Linked DNA regions of Homo sapiens: region 1 is linked to region 2. Evidence: promoter capture Hi-C in human tissues and cell types (Jung and others, 2019). All regions are on one chromosome and are shown on one strand. Each heading gives the region's core, a stretch centred on a gene start or on the middle of the fragment in contact. The rest is flanking DNA. Distances are from core to core; before and after follow the strand shown.

Region 1 (4,427 bases), core at 1,343-3,842, 150 kb before region 2:
TCTAGTAGGTGGATTATAATTATGTTTAGGAAAAAATATGAAAGGGGAATACAAGACTATTTTTTGCTCGTATAGACATTAAACTGCAACAGTAGTTACTAAGTGGAATTTAAGATAGAGCACAATAGACTCCCCTCTAAACATGATTACAAAAAGTACAAACACAGACTAGTCTGTTTTTCTGTCATGAAAACCCATGTACTCACCACTTAGATCTAAGACTACATTTCGCCATACTGCATTATAAATTTTTTTTAATGAGCCATTTCAGAGGAAATTACTTCAGATGCTGCATCTTTAAAGTGTTGAGTTTACCTTGCCTCAACATATTCCCCTACAAGATGCCATTAACACCCTAACACAATAAGTGATTCCCCAATACCATATAATTGAGTCCATATGAAAATCTCAATTGTTTCCCAAATGTTGTTGCTGATCACCAGGGGCTTGGTCTAGGTCCTGTTGCTCACCACACAGAAAGCCAATCACTGTGGCAACAAGTATTGCCAGGGAAGAAGATTTTATTTGAGTGATGTCAGCCAGAGAGAAGGGAGACCAGCCTCAAATACGTCCCTTCCCACCAACTAAAGTTAAGGGAAAAGAAGAGGGGCAGGGACGAGGAGTTGGTCAATAGGCAGCAGGCGGTAGTATAAGGGGTTCCAGCATCTCATTGTAACCACATGTGGGAAAACAGGAATGAGGCAGGGATAAGAAGTTGGTCAACAAGGAGCAGGTGCACCTCACTGTCCAGTGGCAGTGATCTGGAAAGTCTCAGTTCCCGGTATCATTCAGGAGGCCCGATGGTTGGTTTCCCAAGAAAGGAACTCAGATAAGACAAATGTAAGTTTTCCAAGCTTCAAGGTTTTTGTTTTTTTTAAAATATGGAATCCTTCACTAATTTGAGTGTCATCCTTACAGGGGCCATGCTAATCTTCTCTGTATCGTTCCAATTTTAGAATATGTGCTGCTGAAGTGAGCACTTTGTTTTTTCAAGACAACAGTTTCATTCTTTCACCCAGGCTGGAGTGAAGTGGCACCATCTTGGCTCACTGCAACCTCCACCTCCCAGATTCAAGTGATTCTCCTGCCTCAGCCTCCCAAGTAGCTGGGATTACAGGTGTATGCCACCACGCCTGGCTAATTTTTGTATTTTCAGTAGAGGCGGGGTTTTGCCATGTGGGCCAGGCTGGTCTCGAACTCCTGACCTCAGGTGATCCACCCACCTTGGCCTCCTAAAGTGCTAGAATTACAGGCTTGAGCCACCGCGCCCGGCCCAAGCTTCAGTTTTATGAGAAAACTGGGCCTGTTTCAATGTTTATTTTATTTGGTTATTCAAGTCTCAACATTCTTTCAATCTAAAACAGTCCTCCCACCAGCCCTCCTTCCCCAGCCCTTTTTAAATCCATAGCATTGAAGAGACCAGGTCATTGTCTTATAGAATATCCTTCATTTTAGATTTGCCTGATTGTGTCTTCATTCCCTAAACTTCCTATAAACCAGCAGTTGGATTTAAAGCCTTGATAAGACCCAGGTGGAGGATTTTTGGCAAGAACACATTCCAGTTGACACTGTGTACTTACTTACTTCATGTTGTAACTCATATCTGGTGGTTTCATTATGGGATCTACTAGAATATACAGACCATGGGCAGATCATATACAAAAACAGAACTCTGACCCACAGTCTGCAGTAACCAGTCCAGGAAGCCAAACAACCCCTGTAGCCTTTGGTCCCAAATGGCCCGGACTTGATCAGTACCTGCCAGCTTCCCTAATTCTTGCCTCTGTTTTGAAAATCCTTTAGTAGGACCAACCAGAGAAGGCCAAATATGCTTCCCTAACCAATCACATAGGATACCCTGCTTCTAGTTAGCTCACCCACAGCCTCCAGATGCCAACAGCCTTTGATCAAGGCTCACCTGAAGCCTCCCCTTTTCCCAGCATAAAGCTTTCTCACTCCGCTGACTGCCTTTGAGTGTCTGCAATGGCAAGTGACTGTGGCTGACTCTCTGTGTATATACCACACTGAGAATAAGTAGCTGCTGCTCATTTTCATTTGGGTGGTCTATAATTATTACTGAAGTGAAGTGTGATCACAGTTAAGGTGGTAATAGTCAGACCCTTTACACTGTCGATGGACTCAGACTTTTTACTTCATGCCTTGCTTATACTGCTTGGATGTTTTCCATGTGCCTATATTAATATTTACAATAAAAGCATGATTTAGATTTTCATTTAGAATTTATCTTAAATGCATCAAATATGCAATTTTAAGTCAAGTTTTGCATGTTTGGCTCAAAATATCAAAATAATGTTGTGTGGTTTTAAAATAACAAGGTTTATTGCTCTTTATATTAGACATGTAGTTAATTACGTTGATCTCCATAAAAATAAGTTTAATTTTAATTTGAATAAAAGAATGCCACAATGAAATACTGACCATTAAAAAAAAAAAAAAGAATAAAGGACCTTAACCCTGGGCAAACATATAAAAGCATAGGAAAGTCACCCAGTATAATGTCTGGCACATTGCAGGTGTTTTGCAATTAGAGCCCATTCCCACGGTGGTGCACACTGCACAAGACCACAGAGGTCCAGCCCTTTTATCTTTCTGGTCCCATCCAGTCATCACCCATAGTGAATCCCGAAGGCAGCATCTCCACCCACCGTACTGGAGGACCACCGACAACTCCTAGTCCTCAGGGGAAACTCCCTTCCATATTCTTCTTGGTGGCGGCCAATATACATTTCTTTCTTCACTTCCCAGGACGTTTGACATACTTGGTGTTCCTCCCTCCAAGCTCCTCCCTTCCCTTCAGGTCTCAAGGTCTCATCCAACACTTCAAGCTCAAAATATCACACAAGCATCAAGGGGGTGAGCCCAGACAGGCACTCTTCCTTGTCCAGTTTCGGGAGAAGATCTCTGTTCCCTGTGACCCCAGGATACACAATGGCTGTTCTACACTCAGGAATCACTACATGTGATTCCCAGGACAGGGGCTGCAACTCTTCTGCTAAGAGCTCCCATAGCCCCAGGGCTCCCCCACCCCCACCCCATATACACACACCCCTCTCCCAGTCTTCTGTGTCTTTCTCGAGGACTGGTTAGCATTTTGGTAGCACCTTTGCCAGGGAAGCAGGCTCCCCAGGATGCACTTTGAACCCTCCCCCTACTGACATGGACTTGCGTTCTCCTGCCTCTAGGCTCCTTGCCTGGCAGTTCTGCACTTTCGGACTCCCCTCCTCTAACGAGTCCATTTGCCACCACAGCAGTGACTGCAGTAGGGTCACGGCACCTGTTTTCTGTGTTATGTGGAAAAAAATTAAGATACTGAACATTTATGTATGCTACCTTCTGGGTGTGAAGGAGGGAACATGAATTCACATTTGATTTAGCTGGTATCTGCAGAAAGCAGCAGTAGGGATTTAGAAATGCATAAAAATAGTGTTACTTTTTGGGATGAAGAGTGGCATGAGACTGATATCTATATATATATCTATATAGATATAGATATATATTTGGAGGCATTGAAACCTGCTTGATTTATTCTGATTATTTAATACACACTGACGCAACTGTGATCCCAAAGAGTGCAAAGTTAAAGCCTTCAACTGCAGCTGAGGAAGAGGGCAGGAATGGTACACCTCGGGACGGTGGTGAGTCAGGAATGACAGGCAGGTAGCCATGACCAGGGCAGCTTCCTCCCCAGGGCCAGGAACAGGGGAGTAGCCTGAGGAGCAGGACCCAAGGGTAGCCCAGGGCCGGGGAAGGGGGCAGAGACCTCCCCTTGGCCTAGGTCAGGAGCTCAGAAGTGCCACATGGCTGAGGGGACAGGACCCTGGAAGGGCCAGAGGCAGGGCCAGGACAGCACCATTTCCTGGGGGTCTGGGGGCAGGAAGCTGCCCTAGAGAAGAAGCCAGGAGGGGTTGCCTGCCCCTGGGGTGGGGGCCAGGCTGAAGGAGGCTGCAGCAGGCTGCAGCAAGAAAGACCTGAGGCAGGTGCAGGGCCTGAGAGCCCAGCTAGCTGAGCAGGGGGGGCTCCCAGGGCAGCCTGGCCCAGGAAGCAGTCCTGACTCTGCAGGGGATGCCAAGCAAGGGGCCGCAGACCCCTCAGGACCTCCCCTCTTCTCTCCCTGGAAAGGAGCTGGGGAACCCATAGTGCAAATCTGTGTACCACTCAGTGATGGAGGGAGACTGTGCCCCAAGGTGGACACTGGGGTGCACCCCCTCCACCACCTCAGCCTCCACCGCTGTCCTCATCACAGCTGCTTCTCATACGAGTGCAGGCCATGGACACCACCCTTGATCTGGGCCGACATGGTCTGCTTCTCAAACTTGAGCTCCCCTGAGTACATCATGGACCAAAGGACAGACAGGCTGCGGGCCCCGATATCCTGGCAGCTGTGCTGGATGCCCGCTATGAGGTAG
Region 2 (4,519 bases), core at 862-3,361:
ACATCTGACAGTCCCTTCCTAGCATCTCCCAAAGCACTATCCCAGGAAAGGACTAGGTTTGCCCAGTAACTCTGACATGACCACAACTGGGGGGAAAGAATGCAGGTTTGAGGGACAGAGATGCAAGTCAGAAGCTCAAAGTGGAGACGGGAGGGCCACCAATGAAATGACCTGCTGTGTGGCCAGCAATTTAGTCTCTCTGTCAGTTTCCTGCAGCTACAAAAATTGAGGTTAAGATGGCCAACGTAAGAGAGCTGTTACCAGGAATGCCTTATAAAATCATTCCCTTAATAAGTGGGGCTTTTAACAGCCAAATAAATGGGTCCCATCAGCCTTTGACCTTCAGGTTGCTAAGGGCAGTTTCTCAGCCCTCTCGGTTCACTTGTTTTTCTTTTATACATATATCCTTATTTATTTTTACTGTACCTATCGATTCACTGTTAAAACAGGGACAAGACCTAGAAAGATGGCACTTTGTTTCCTGGCTCTGAACAAGTTAAATCAAACAATAGGTTATAATTCAAAATTCCTGGTGCCCAATACTTTCTGAGCATTTTAACCACTCCAAGCCAGAGTTTTCTCTCTGGCAAAGAATAACAGAAAGCTCACATAGTGGCAACGACAACTGAACGTGATAAAGCAGAGCGCCTGCCACAACAGTAGATGCCCAATAAATGCTAGTTCTCCTCCTCCCTCAGTGCCATGTCTTCTTCCTCCAGCTGCCTTGTCTAAAAAGGCTGGCTTCCACACTCCACGGCCAGGCCAGGACAAGCCTACCACTTGTCAGAAACTCCCGCCAGTATCCGTTCCTGCACCCAGACACACACTTACAAATCAGTCATCCCCAAGACCAAAGACACAGGGGTTCCAAAAGGCACCCTCAAGGGAACCAGTCACCAGCCTTCCTCGTTAAGCAGCTCTGTGCTCTCAGGGAGAGAACTTAGCCCCAGCAGCCACTACTAGGATTTTCCCATGGTGCAATGCAACTTCCCCAACTTTTCCGGGCCCAGTTTCCAAAGAAACCCAGGCAGGCGTTGTGCACAATCAGCCACCAGTCTGGGAGAGACTGGGCTCTGAGCAGAGAAAAAGGAGCTGGGACAGCCAGAAAATGAAAAAGCAGTTGTGGCCCCGGCACAGGATGGCAGCGACCAAAACTTAAGAGTAGGGGTCCTGGCCCAAGTCCCATTCTTCTGGACGGTACCCTTGGTTAAAGGCTAGCACAGGGTGCCAAAGCTAGCGGACGGTGAGGAGCCTCAGAAAAGGGACTGATGGACATCCTCCGAGGTACCCCCTACCCGCTACTGGACCTGGTGGCCCCCGGGGACCCTGTCGTCGAGGCACCTGAGAGTGAAGGCCTTCAGCGGGGGGCATTGTTCACAGCGAACGGCGGGACTGGGGGAGGCGGCGGGACTTCGGGATCCGCGCACCGCCGCCTCCCCAACTGGGCCAGAGGAGCGAGTCCACCGAGGCCATCGCCAGGTGGAGCGGCGGCCCCGGCGAGGTACCCTCGGCCAGCAGGAGGGAGAAGCGGAGGGCGCGTCCCAGAGGCGGGGGCCAAGGGTCTGCCACTCACCCGCGCCTTCGGCGGGCTGCGGCGGCCCGACGACGCCGTTCAGGTAGAGAATGGGCAGCAGGTGAGGCTGCGTCTTCTCCAGCGCCGCCCGCAGGTCCTGGAAGTGGTCCCGCTCCTTGGCCAAGAGCAGCTTGAGCAGCAGCTCCGCCTTGGCGCCTCCCGCCTCCTCGTCCAGCTGCCGCCGCTCGCCGGGACTGAGCGCTCCCGCGGCCTCGAGCAGCCCGAGCACGGCTTCCACCTCCGTCATGGCCTGGGCCAGGCTCTGCTGACACTGGGCGAGCAGCTCCCGGCGCTGGGGCTCCATGGTGGCGGGCCGCGCCGCCCCGCCCCGCCGGACGCCTCCCGGGCCCCCCGAGGCCGGCGGGCGGGCAGGCGAGCACCTCGGCAGCAGCCCTAGGGCGCCGGGAGCCGTGAGGCGGCGGGAGCCATGGGCCGGGGCCTGGGCGGGCTGGGGGCCCGGGGCGGCGGGCGGCGCTCAGCAGCGGCCGCCTCCCGGGCTCCGGAGCGCAGCCATGTTGGCTGCCGCGGCGGCGGGACTGGAAGAGGAGGAGGAGGAGACGGAGGAGGAGAAGGAGGAGGCGGAGGTGGGGACGGCGGCCGGGGCGCGCCCCGAGGCCGGGCTCCAGCCGGGCATGCTCCCCCTCCCCCTCAGCCTCCGCGCGCGCCGCCCGCCCCGCGAGAAAACTCGCCCCGAAAGCCGGGCCGCGCGCCGCCCCCAGAGCAAGACTACAACTCCCGGGAGAAAGTCGCCTGGGCCGTGTTTCCCAGGCTCCCGACAGCTCCGGCCCGGCTCGGAGGCCGCCTCGGCCCCCGTGCACCCCGGCCCGGCTCACCGGGGCCCCGCGGCCGCCACCCGCTCCCCCGTGGCCACAGCCCCGCCGCCGCCGGCCCGTCCCTCCTCTCTCCCCTCCCCAGGCCGTCCCTCCGGGAGGCGGCAGCAGGGGAGGAGGGGACGGGCGGAGGGGAGGGGTCCCCGGCCCGCCCGCTAGGCGGGGACGCGGCGCCGGCTGGTTCCCGGTCCCCCGAGGCCCAGGCGCAGCCGGGGGTGGGGGACACGGAGTCAGGCCTGGCACGCGGCCAGCCCACAAGCTGCTGGAGACCCCCTCATACAAATCTTGCCCCCAGTCCAGAGGGTCCTAATCTGAGAACTCCAAAATACAGCCTGGAGACAAATGGTGGGGAGGGTTTCCCCTAAATTTGGACATCTCCAGATTAAGACCTCCGCCGAATCCGTGAGGCTTTCCCTCTCCAAGGAGCTCCTAAGAGAATTTCCCAGTAAAATCGCCTCAACTGCGGTAAATAGGCTGTTCCCCGCGCCAGCATTTGAGAAGAGCTGGTCCCCAGAGTGTAAAGGAGTTAGGATGTTGGCAGGAGGAAGGATGTGTCGCCGGATGAGGAAAAGAAAGGTGGGTGTCTGCGGTGCAGTCCTTGGTCTTTCTGGCAAGTGAGGCGCTCTCCCCCTAAATGTCTCAGAGGGAGACAAATCAGCGGACTACCTTGCTTCCTTTGATGACTTGGAAAGGATCTGCAGTCCCCCTTAAAGCCCAAGAATGTCTTCTCTTCCACGACAGCCGTTTGTGGACACATACTGCTTACCTCCCTGACTGCAGGACAAGGTCCTTCAAAGCTGGAACTCTGACTGCGCTCAGTGATCCCGCAGTGCTCCTCTGTAGAGTGGGAACCCAGGTCCATTTCAAATATCTACGTTGGAATGAGTGGATCTCGCTGGGGGTGAGAGGCACTTTGTCTACCCACACTGCCAGTCCCAGCCACATGCCTCCTCCCTTCCCTCAAAAAGCAGTGTCTTCTTAGTCTGCTTCTTCAAGGGGAGAAGTCGTTTTTATTTATGGAAACGAACTCACTATATGGTAGAAAGAACAAGAGTATCAGAATTTGCACTTTGGACTTGGACTCCCCTCTAAGCAGCTGCACAAGGTGGAACAAACCAATAATCCTTGCTGATCTGTTTTGTCCTTAGGAAAAATGGTGGAGGGAGAATATTAGATCAGGGGTTCTTAGCCTTGGCTTCATGAATAAGCTCAAGGATGTCAATGAAGCTTTTGACATGATCTCAACTTTTTTGTGAACATTTATATATTTTTCTGGAATGGGGTCCATAGAGTTACAAGTTCTTTAAGACCTCCAGATGGACCCCAATATGGCAGAAATGAACTATTTAAAGATACCTGCCTGCTCCCGTAGTCTGACCCTCTATGGCTAAGCAAGGTTTTAGAGGAGTGGAAGGCTGGCCATTGCACAGTATCAGGGTTCCAGACAGGCTCCCTGGCTCTTCCCTCCCAGTCCTGCTCCTGAGATATAGTTCTTTCTGGCCGCCACTTCCCTTAGGGCAACCCCAGAGCTTAAATCATCTGCAAGGCAGTCACCTTTCAGGCACCTTTCATCCGGCACCTGTGTTCTTAGCTGGATTAACTAGAAAGCTAGTTGGAGGAAGGAAGGTGAAAGTGGAGGAAGGGGAAAAGAGGAAAAGTTGGAGACGAATCTGGCTTATGGTTAGAAGCATATTTTTTGGCCAGGCAAAGTGGCTCACGCCTGTAATCCCAGCACTTTGGGAGGCTGAGGTAGGCGGATTGCCTGAGCTCAGGAGTTGGAGACCAGCCTGGCCAACGTGGTAAAACCCCGTCTCTAACAAAAATACAAAAATTTAGCCAGGCATGATGGTGCAAGCCTGTAATCCCAGCTGTTCAGGAGGCTGAGGCATGAGAATTGCTTGAACCCAGGAGGTGGAGGTTGCAGTGAGCTGAAATTGCACCACTGCACTCCAGGCTGGGTGACCGAGCAAGACTCTGTCTCAAAAAAAAGAAAAAAAAACTTATTTTTTGAGACAGAGTCTCACTCTGTCGCCCAGGCTGGATTGCAGTGGGGCAAACACAGTTCACTGCAGCCTCAATTTCTTGGGCTCAAGCAACTATCCTGCCTCAGCCTCCC

Evidence for each region. Contacts are between HindIII fragments. The study calls those that stand out against the background at their distance.
Region 1: a contact is called between a fragment that was not itself captured here and the fragment with the promoter of DLG5 in region 2, in 1 of the 25 tissues and cell types used here (H1 embryonic stem cells).

Annotation. Positions count from the first base shown.
Region 1 is chr10:77,776,076-77,780,502 of GRCh38, forward strand. It overlaps the pseudogene RNU6-1266P and the pseudogene IMPDH1P5. Among named protein-coding and RNA genes, the nearest start is that of KCNMA1, 140 kb to the left of the region's middle. The HindIII fragment of the contact is 3,053 bases long and covers 1,067-4,119 here.
Region 2 is chr10:77,924,644-77,929,162 of GRCh38, forward strand. DLG5 (discs large MAGUK scaffold protein 5) reads right to left here and starts at 2,112. Exons shown (of 32, transcript NM_004747.4): 1 at 1,574-2,112. The coding sequence starts at 1,877. It overlaps DLG5-AS1 (DLG5 antisense RNA 1), which reads left to right and starts at 2,169. Exons shown (of 1, transcript NR_024585.1): 1 at 2,169-4,519. RefSeq lists a silencer at 3,805-3,981. The HindIII fragment of the contact is 24,944 bases long and covers 1-4,519 here.